3 separate regions of the Homo sapiens genome follow, and regions 2 and 3 are each linked to region 1. The links are contacts of gene promoters, found by promoter capture Hi-C in human tissues and cell types (Jung and others, 2019). All regions are on one chromosome and are shown on one strand. Each heading gives the region's core, a stretch centred on a gene start or on the middle of the fragment in contact. The rest is flanking DNA. Distances are from core to core; before and after follow the strand shown.

Region 1 (2,762 bases), core at 164-2,663:
GTTGCAGTGAACAAAATTTGAAAATCTCATATGCCCCTAGAACTGGCTGCTGAGGCTGGATTGCATCCTCTTCCTATCTAACATTGGAAACACAAACCTGATCAAATGCAGTGATCAGACAGCAGTCAGACACTTCTGAGTACAAGCCCCAGCTCCTCCACCTGGGAGCTGCATGGCTTTGGGAAGAAACTTAACCCTAAGTCCAGCCTCCAGTTTTTAATCTGTGCAATGGGAATTATAATACTGACTTCACAGTGCTACCAGGATTAAAAGTTTATGTATATGAAGCACCTGGCAAGGTTGGCCCACAAAAAGGGTTCCATTTAGCAAGGGTGGGCCAGGTGCAGTGGTTCATGCCTGTAATCCCAGCACTTTGGGAGGCTGAGGTGGGAGGATCCCTTCGTACAGGAGTTCAGGACCAGCCTGGGCAACACAGTGAGACCCTCGTCTTTGAAAAAAATAAAAAATTAGCCAGGCATGGTAGTGCATGCCTGTAGTAGTCCCAGCTACTTGGGAGGCTGAGGTGGAAGTATCTCTTGAGTCCAGGAGGTTGAGGCTGCAGTGAGGTATAATGGTGCCACTGCACTCCAGCCTGGATGAGAGTGAGACCCTGTCTTAAAAATTAAAGGGTCCTCAGGCCAGTCATGGTGACTAACACCTGTAATCCCAACACTTTGGGAGGCTGAGGCAAGAGGATTGCTTGAGCCCAGGAATTTGAGACCAGCCTGAGCAACAGAGTGAGACCCCCATCTCTACAAAAAAAAAATCAGAAAATTAGCCGGTAGTGATTGTTTGCGCCTGTAGTCCCAGCTACTCGGGAGGCTCAGGTGGGAGAACTGATTGGGCCCAAGAAGTCGAGGCTGCAGTAAGCCACGATCGATCGAGCCACTGCACTCCAGCCTGTGCAGCAGAGTGAGACTGTCTCAAAAAAAAAAAAAAAAAGATAAGTAAATATAAAGAAGAAGAGTCATCAAAGCCCCCTGCCAAACGTCCAAGGGCCTGGTCAGTGACCGCCATGTCCCTGACCCCACATGTCCTGTGGGAGCGTGGAGAATTAGCCTGGACCTTGCCTCAGGGGCAATCTCCCCTCTCCAAAGCCGGAACTGCAGGTCCCAGCGTCGTCTTAAGAGGAGAACTGGGCCCCAGAGAACTTTCTCCGAGACTCCCCAAAACTCCAAGCCTGCCCCAGCCGGCCACAAGGCCCAAACGCCCCGCCCGGCTCTCCGGTCCCTGGGACCGCCCTGCTCCCTCCTCCACGGCGCGCGAGGCTCTTACTCTGCCGCCCGGGCGAGCGCGACCCTACCCTCGGCGGGTATCCTGCGGGTGACGAACACCTTCATGAGTCGCACCGGTCTCATCCGCAGTGCAGCCGCCGACCCGGACCTGGCAGTACAGAAGCTGGCCCGGGAATGTAGCTGGGCCGGGGCGGGGCCAGGCTGGAGTGGGCGGGAGAGACGTCGCGCGCGGCGTGCGCAGGGGGTGTGGCTTCGCGAGAGGGAGCGCCGGGTTGCGGCTGAGCGGTGACTGTGCGTGCTCGGGGAGTGACAGTAACAGTGACCCTACACAGTGTCCTTGTGTGTGTGTGGGGGGGTGCGCCTCGTGCCACTGGGGAATCAGGGCCCCGGGGGAGAGGGGGCAGTATCCCGTCCAAGGCCTCATGGGAGCCCTGCTTTTTCTACACGCTCAGGGTCCTGTTTCCACAGGCTCAGGCCTTAAGAGACTGAAAGCCCCCACTTTTTCTGTCTCTTGGGTTGGCCCAGGGTAGAAACCCAGGTTCCAGGCTGTGAGGAAGTCCAGGACACACAGAGAGGTCACGTGTAGGTGTTCAGGCCAACAGCACAGCCAGGGGCCCGGCTCACAGCCACCGTCAATGACCAGAGGTATGAGTGAGGAAGCCTTCGGGTGACTCCAGGCCAACTCCCACCTGACTACAGCTAAAACTGCAAGAAAGAGCCTTTAGGAGAATCACTGGCTGAGCCCAGTCAACCCCGGAACCATAAGAGATGATAATGCACTGACTGCTGTTGCTCTAAGCCGTTCAATTTTGGAGTAATTCTTTATGCAGCAATAAATAAGTGATACGCTATGTGTGCGAAAGCCAGAAGCCATAAGAGTACAACTAATTCTCCATTGAAAAATTAACCGTACCATCCTGAATGCATCTGATCTTGGAAACTAAGCCTGGTTAGGGCTTGTATGGGAGACTGCCTGGAAATACCAGGTGCCTGGAAATACCAGGCTTATGTTTATCTTAAAAAAAAAAAATTAACAAAATCATAAGACAACAAACCGGGAAAAATACCATATATTTGCAACTCATTTTATAGACAAGGGGTTGATTTACTTATTGCACAAATAGTTCCTAAGACAAAGATGCCCAGCTTATCTGAATAAGCAAAGGATATCAATGGACAGTTTATAGAAAAGAAAATGGCCTTTAAATGTATGGCTGGGCGCGGTGGCTCATGCCTGTAATCCCAGCACTTTCGGAGGCCGAGGCAGGCGGATCACTTGAGGTCAGAAGTTTGAGACCAGCCTGGCCAACATGGTGAAACTCTGTCTGTACTGAATATACAAACATTAGGTGGGCATGGTGGCACATGCCTGTAATTCCAGCTACTCAGGAGGCTGAGGCAGGAGAATTGCTCATGAGTCCAGGAGATGGAGGTTGCAGTGAGCCGAGATCCCATCACTACACTCCAGCCTGGGTGACAGAGTGAGACTCCATCTAAAACAAAAAAAAACAAAACAAACAAAAAAAA
Region 2 (2,762 bases), core at 134-2,633, 360 kb before region 1:
GGAGCTCCCACTCTTGCCAGGGAAACTAACCTGGAGGTGGGAGCTCCTTTTATTTGTTGACCTTTTTTTATACCCAGGGGAAAATGGCTTGCCAAATTTGGAGGGTGTGTTAGAGATGATCTGTCTTAATCATCCTAAAAAATCTAAAAATTCGGCCGGGCTTGGTGGCTCATGCCTGTAATCCCAGTACTTTGGGAGGCCAAAGTGGGCCTATCGCTTGAGGTCAGGCGTTCAAGACCAGCCTGGCCAGCATGGTGAAACGCTGTCTCTACTAAAAATACAAAAATTAGCCAGGTGCGGTGGTGCACTCCTGTAATCCTAGCTACTCGGGAGCCTGAGGCAGGAGAATTGCTTGAACCTGGGAGGCGGAGGTTGCAGTGAGCCGAGATGGTGCCACTGTAGTCCAGCCTGGGCGACAGAGCGAGACTCCGTCTAAAAAAAAAAATCTAAAAATTACGTTGGAAGCAGGTGCCTCAAAGAGATGAGCAGTAGAAAGGGAGGGCCGCTAAAGGCAATCGGTCAGTCACGGCCTCCCAGACCCTAGGAATTCTACCACTGCTGGAGAATCTGATCAAGCACTAATTGAAGGTTCGAGTTGACAGAGAAAACGGTGATTTAAAATAGAACCCCCAAAGTCAGATAGATGATTGGAATCTCTTTGGGTTTGGAATTCAACTGCTTCTCACGTGCGCAACTAAGTGTGCTCCAGGGAAATTTGAGTTACTGATATTCCAGGCCATGTAGGGCTATCGGAAGCATGTGAAATATGTATATTTGCAGGGGGAAAAAGTCTAGGGAGAAATACACACCAAAGGAATACATTCGTTCATTCATCAGGTATTACCTATTTCATGCCACACCTTGGGCTCTAAAGAATCAGAACTACAGTGTAGCAAGGGAGAAAAACGGGCAAGATTAAAACATCGTTTATTTTCTTCTTTTATTTTTCTCTGTGTTTTCTAAATGTGACTAGATCTCTAACAACCAAGAAGGTTTTATTTATTTTGAAAAAAACTACTTTTCCTGTTAAAAGGTCAGCCACTCTTCTGAGGGCGGAGTCGGAAAGAAGGTCCCATGAACCCACCTAGCGTCCAATTTCCCTTTTTTTTTTTTTTTTGACAGGGTCTCACTCTGTCCTCCAGACTGGAGTGCAGTGGCACCATCTAGGCTCACTGTAACCTCCGCCTCCTAGGTTCAAGTGATTCTCCTGTCTCAGCCTTCCGAGTAGCTGGGATTACACGTGCGTGCCACCACGCCCGGCTAATTTTTGTATTTTTAGTAGAGACAGGGTTTCACCATGGTGGCCAGGCTGGTCTTGAACTCCTGACCTCAAATGATCCACCCGCCTCGGCCTCCCAAACTTCTGGGATTACAGGCGTGAGCCACCGCGCCCGGCCCCAGCGTCCAATTTTCAAAGCCCCTCTGCTCAGCTTCCAGAGATCCCAAGAAACTCTTAAGTGGAAGTATCTCGTATCCCCACGATGCGACCGGTCACAAAACACGCGACCCGAGACACTGGAAGTGGAGGCTTTTCGATGGACCAAGCTGCGCGGTTTTCATACCGACCCGCGGCCAGGCTGTCAGATAGGTGGCCGGCCACAATCACTGCCACCTTGGACAGGGACCCGTGAGCTGACGGCCATCAAGCTTCATAAACTGGTCCGAATCCAACGGACCGCTACTGCCGGAAACGGAAAGTCCTCAAGGGCGGGTGTTGGAAGCGGAGCGGAAGCGGAAGGCGGGTACCGGAAACGGTGTTTGGTGGAGCCCGCGATGGCCGAACCTGCGTCTGTCGCGGCTGAATCTCTCGCGGGCAGCAGGGCGCGCGCTGCACGCACAGTACTAGGTCAGGTGGTGCTCCCGGGTGAGGAGCTGCTCCTGCCGGAACAGGAGGACGCGGAAGGCCCTGGGGGTGCAGTGGAGCGACCGTTGAGCCTGAATGCTAGAGCGTGCTCGCGGGTGCGCGTTGTATGCGGTCCGGGCCTTCGGCGCTGTGGGGACCGCCTGCTGGTCACCAAGTGCGGCCGCCTCCGTCACAAGGAGCCCGGCAGTGGCAGCGGCGGCGGTGTTTACTGGGTGGACTCTCAGCAGAAGCGGGTGAGCTGGGACTCCGGAGGGGTGGTGCGGCAGTGAGAGTGGTAGCCCTGCTTTGAGAAGACCTCCCAAAAGAAGAGAGGGACCCTGAGGCCCTCTTTTGTTCAGGCAAACCTAGAGCCACCGTAGTCTTGTGCCCACTTCTGCATGTCCTTTAGAGGGACCGTGAACAATAGGAACATAGCCTGAGAAGGGCGACCAGGAGAGAAAAACGTTTGGAGACCGTGAGTCATGATTATAGTCTTCAAAACCCCACAGCAGGCCTGCCGTTTGGAGTCTCAGAGGGCAGGACTAGGCTCAATGAGTGGATGTCATAGGGAGTTAATTTCTCCTAGAACAGGTAAGAATTTCATATAGAAAAAATTGTCTATGGAATGGGCTTCCTTGGTTGTAAGGATTCCTTTGCCACTGGACTTATGCCACAAAGCTAGAGACTTACTGGTTGGGGTGCCTAAGAGATAATGGAGTTTGGACTCAATTAACAGACTACCAGAAGCTGCACACCCGGCACTTTATGAAGTGATTTTCTTTTACCGAAAGTGGCATTTGATCAGATTTCTCTTTAATGACAATAAAGTAACCACAAAGGACTTGCTGAAGGTATCTTCCAATGGTATCTTGTCATTTATGGCTGTTTTTTCATTCTGTTTCTTTTTGTAGTATGTTCC
Region 3 (2,762 bases), core at 98-2,597, 340 kb after region 1:
GTAGAGACGGGGTTTCTCCATTTTGGTCAGGATGGTCTCGAACTCCTGACCTCAGGTGATCCGCCCGCCTCGGCCTCCCAAAGTGCTGAGATTTACAGGCGTCAGCCACCGCGCCCGGTCTTTAATCAATCTTTCTGGTCTCACAGCCTACCTACTGGTCATTCTGACCTTTTGCTCTTATTTACTTCCAAAGCACCTTTAGCCTCCCTAGATGTTCCTTCTTGACGACATAGGAATCTATCTCGGGCCGATTTAAATCAAATCCACAGCCTCATTTTCAGTCCAAATTTCACTGCAATATGCTGAACACACTTTACTTTCAACGTAAAATTTCTTTCTTACTATTAATGAGCTATCCTGATAGTGACAGGTGAAACACAATTGACTAAGGGGTTAAAATGTCCATTTTTCAAATGCCACGGCCACTCTGAATCAAATCTGAGATTGGAGTGGAGAAACCAAATGTGTAAAACAAAGGTCACAAAACAGAGGCAGAGCACAGTATTTCAGTGGGGGAAAAAAAATAAGCTAAATTTAGTCACATAAGTCCCAGCTCTTCTTGGGATATATATATGATTTTTATGAGAACTAATCCTATCCGGAAACATTTCCTTCACCTTTCCCTTAGCCCTTTTCCTTCGGTCATGCAGTCTCTTACCGTGCTAATTATCATATTAATATAATCCTCACTTGCGATCCTTCCTGACTTTATTCCCCATCCTCAGATTCTCTTGAAAGCATAATGCCTTCCTAAGTATACACACAATCCATTTAAAAGTCTTTGTATGCGACAGCCTAACTATTCAAACACGAAGTCATTTCTCTAACGGTCCTAGAAAAAATTTTTTAAAAGAAAAAGAAAACCACAAAGTCAAGAGCTTCTGAGGGGACCTGAAAAGTCATCAAATTGAACGCTCTCGTTTTATAGTTGGAGAAACTTATTCACTGAGCTAAAAGGGCCCTACTAATGGAGCCCCTAATTCAACTGTGTAATCTGATATAATCTTAAATTCAGCCTCAATAAGAGCTTTCTGGAATCGCCAGCGAGTCCGTGGGGGAGCCACGGCTAGAACCCAGGCCTCCTGATTCCCAGCCACAGCTTTTCCACCGAACCGGCAGCTCTTCCCAAAAGTTGAAGGCAACTGTCCGCTCACCGTCCAAGACTACTCGTTTTACATGAGGAAAGGGTCACAGCTCCCGAAATTTTGGATTCCACGGCGGCAGCTGCTGCTTCTGACAGCAGAGGCGGGAGGTGGCCCAGGACTACTCGGTCCTCAAAGACTGGACTCTCTCTCGGCGCGCCCGGACCTCCGCGCTTCACTGACTGGCTTCCCTAGAAGACTGGGGGCCTTGCGGGGAGATAAAAAGGGCAGACACGCCACCCCCACCGAGGCCCTGGACGCCCAGCCGCCCTAGAATCACGACCTTAGCCCTTGGAAAGCCAGGGAGATGCGGACCCCCTAGACCCGCAGCCCGGCCGCGTGGGGCGGCGCGCAGCTGAGGGACCAGGAGCTGCGCCCCACCACAAGTGAGGGGCGGACCGGAGACGCCGAGGTCGGCGAGGGGGCACGCGCTAGTTCCACAGCTCGGCTGGCGAGACGGAGGGTAGGCAGGGGTCCCAGGCCGCGGGTGACTCGGGGTCCGTCACATACATACTCACTGCCGTAGCTGCAAACAGAAAGCACCAAACAGGGACCAAAACGCGTAGAGGGACGGGGAGGGGCGAGGACAAATGAGGTAAGGAGGCCGCGTCCGCGCAGACCCGGGAGGAGAGAAGGCACTTCCGGGACAACACAGCCCTAGGCGTCGCCTTCTGTGTCCGCCCACCTGTCGCGCCTGGTATGCGCATGCGTACTAAGTGCGAACCTTTCTCTGCCCCGCCCATAATCTTTAGATTTGCCTTCCATGCTTTGCCCCTTCCCCTTCCCATCTTCTCTTGAAGTTACCTAGATTGCGTCTATTATTTGAATGACTCGTACAAAAGAGATGCTATTTATCGGGCAAAAGCCGGGAGTTCGTGCCCTCTACGCCCGCAAGGAAAACTACAACTCCCATGAGGACACGGGTGAGATTGAGGCCGGGCTCCGCCTCCTTCTCCCTGGAGCTTGGTGGACGCCTTCCCAGTGCCACGTGGCGGGGAGCTGATCTGATCGCGGGCGTGACGACGGCCCGCACGGCTAGCTGCTTGGCCCGCGGGCCTGGGCAGCCCTGGAGCGGGAAACGCCTCCGTGAGAACGCATGGCTTCAAGCTTCTCCCTTGCGCTCCTGATCTTAGGCTGATCGCTTTTACCTTTAGGTTGAAGTTGAACACAGTTCACACTGTGCTCTTCCTCCCCCTCTTTCTGGAATTCCAGGCAACAGATTTAACACTTTATGAATCTTGAAGAGCTGCACTCCTCCTAAATATTGCAGTTAATGCTGATCCTTTGGAAGCCTCCGAAGGCCACAAGGCTGTGATGGGAGCCTCTGGCTTCAGTTGCCTTTCTCACACCTTATTTTAATACTCAAGGTAAACCCTTCTGTACAACTTTAGAAATAACTGTCAACCTAAAGGAAAAACGGAGGCAAAGTTAATATAAATAGAGAATTTATTTGGGCCAAGTCTCAAGAATGCAAACTGGGAGCATCACTTCAAGTTACCCTTAATTTAATACATGATCTTAGCAGCAGTTTCAAGTGAGTTCTTTGTTTTGTTGGCCAGGAAGCTTGAACTCTTGTCTCAAAGGAATTGATCCTTCCATCTCTGCCTCCCAAAGTACTGG

What was found. Contacts are between HindIII fragments. The study calls those that stand out against the background at their distance.
Region 2: a contact is called between a fragment that was not itself captured here and the fragment with the promoter of GRHPR in region 1, in 1 of the 25 tissues and cell types used here (lymphoblastoid cells).
Region 3: a contact is called between a fragment that was not itself captured here and the fragment with the promoter of GRHPR in region 1, in 2 of the 25 tissues and cell types used here (hippocampus and spleen).

What each region holds. Positions count from the first base shown.
Region 1 is chr9:37,421,347-37,424,108 of GRCh38, reverse strand. It overlaps GRHPR (glyoxylate and hydroxypyruvate reductase), which reads right to left and starts at 1,413. Exons shown (of 9, transcript NM_012203.2): 1 at 1,276-1,413. The coding sequence starts at 1,358. RefSeq lists enhancers at 816-1,441, 1,442-2,067 and a silencer at 1,452-1,601. The HindIII fragment of the contact is 13,627 bases long and covers 1-2,762 here.
Region 2 is chr9:37,784,056-37,786,817 of GRCh38, reverse strand. It overlaps EXOSC3 (exosome component 3), which reads left to right and starts at 1,754. Exons shown (of 4, transcript NM_016042.4): 1 at 1,754-2,097; 2 at 2,755-2,762. The coding sequence starts at 1,774. RefSeq lists enhancers at 1,862-2,001, 1,499-2,014, 2,012-2,071. The HindIII fragment of the contact is 4,959 bases long and covers 1-2,762 here.
Region 3 is chr9:37,078,929-37,081,690 of GRCh38, reverse strand. It overlaps the pseudogene EBLN3P. Among named protein-coding and RNA genes, the nearest start is that of ZCCHC7, 40 kb to the left of the region's middle. RefSeq lists an enhancer at 1,611-2,090. The HindIII fragment of the contact is 4,726 bases long and covers 1-2,762 here.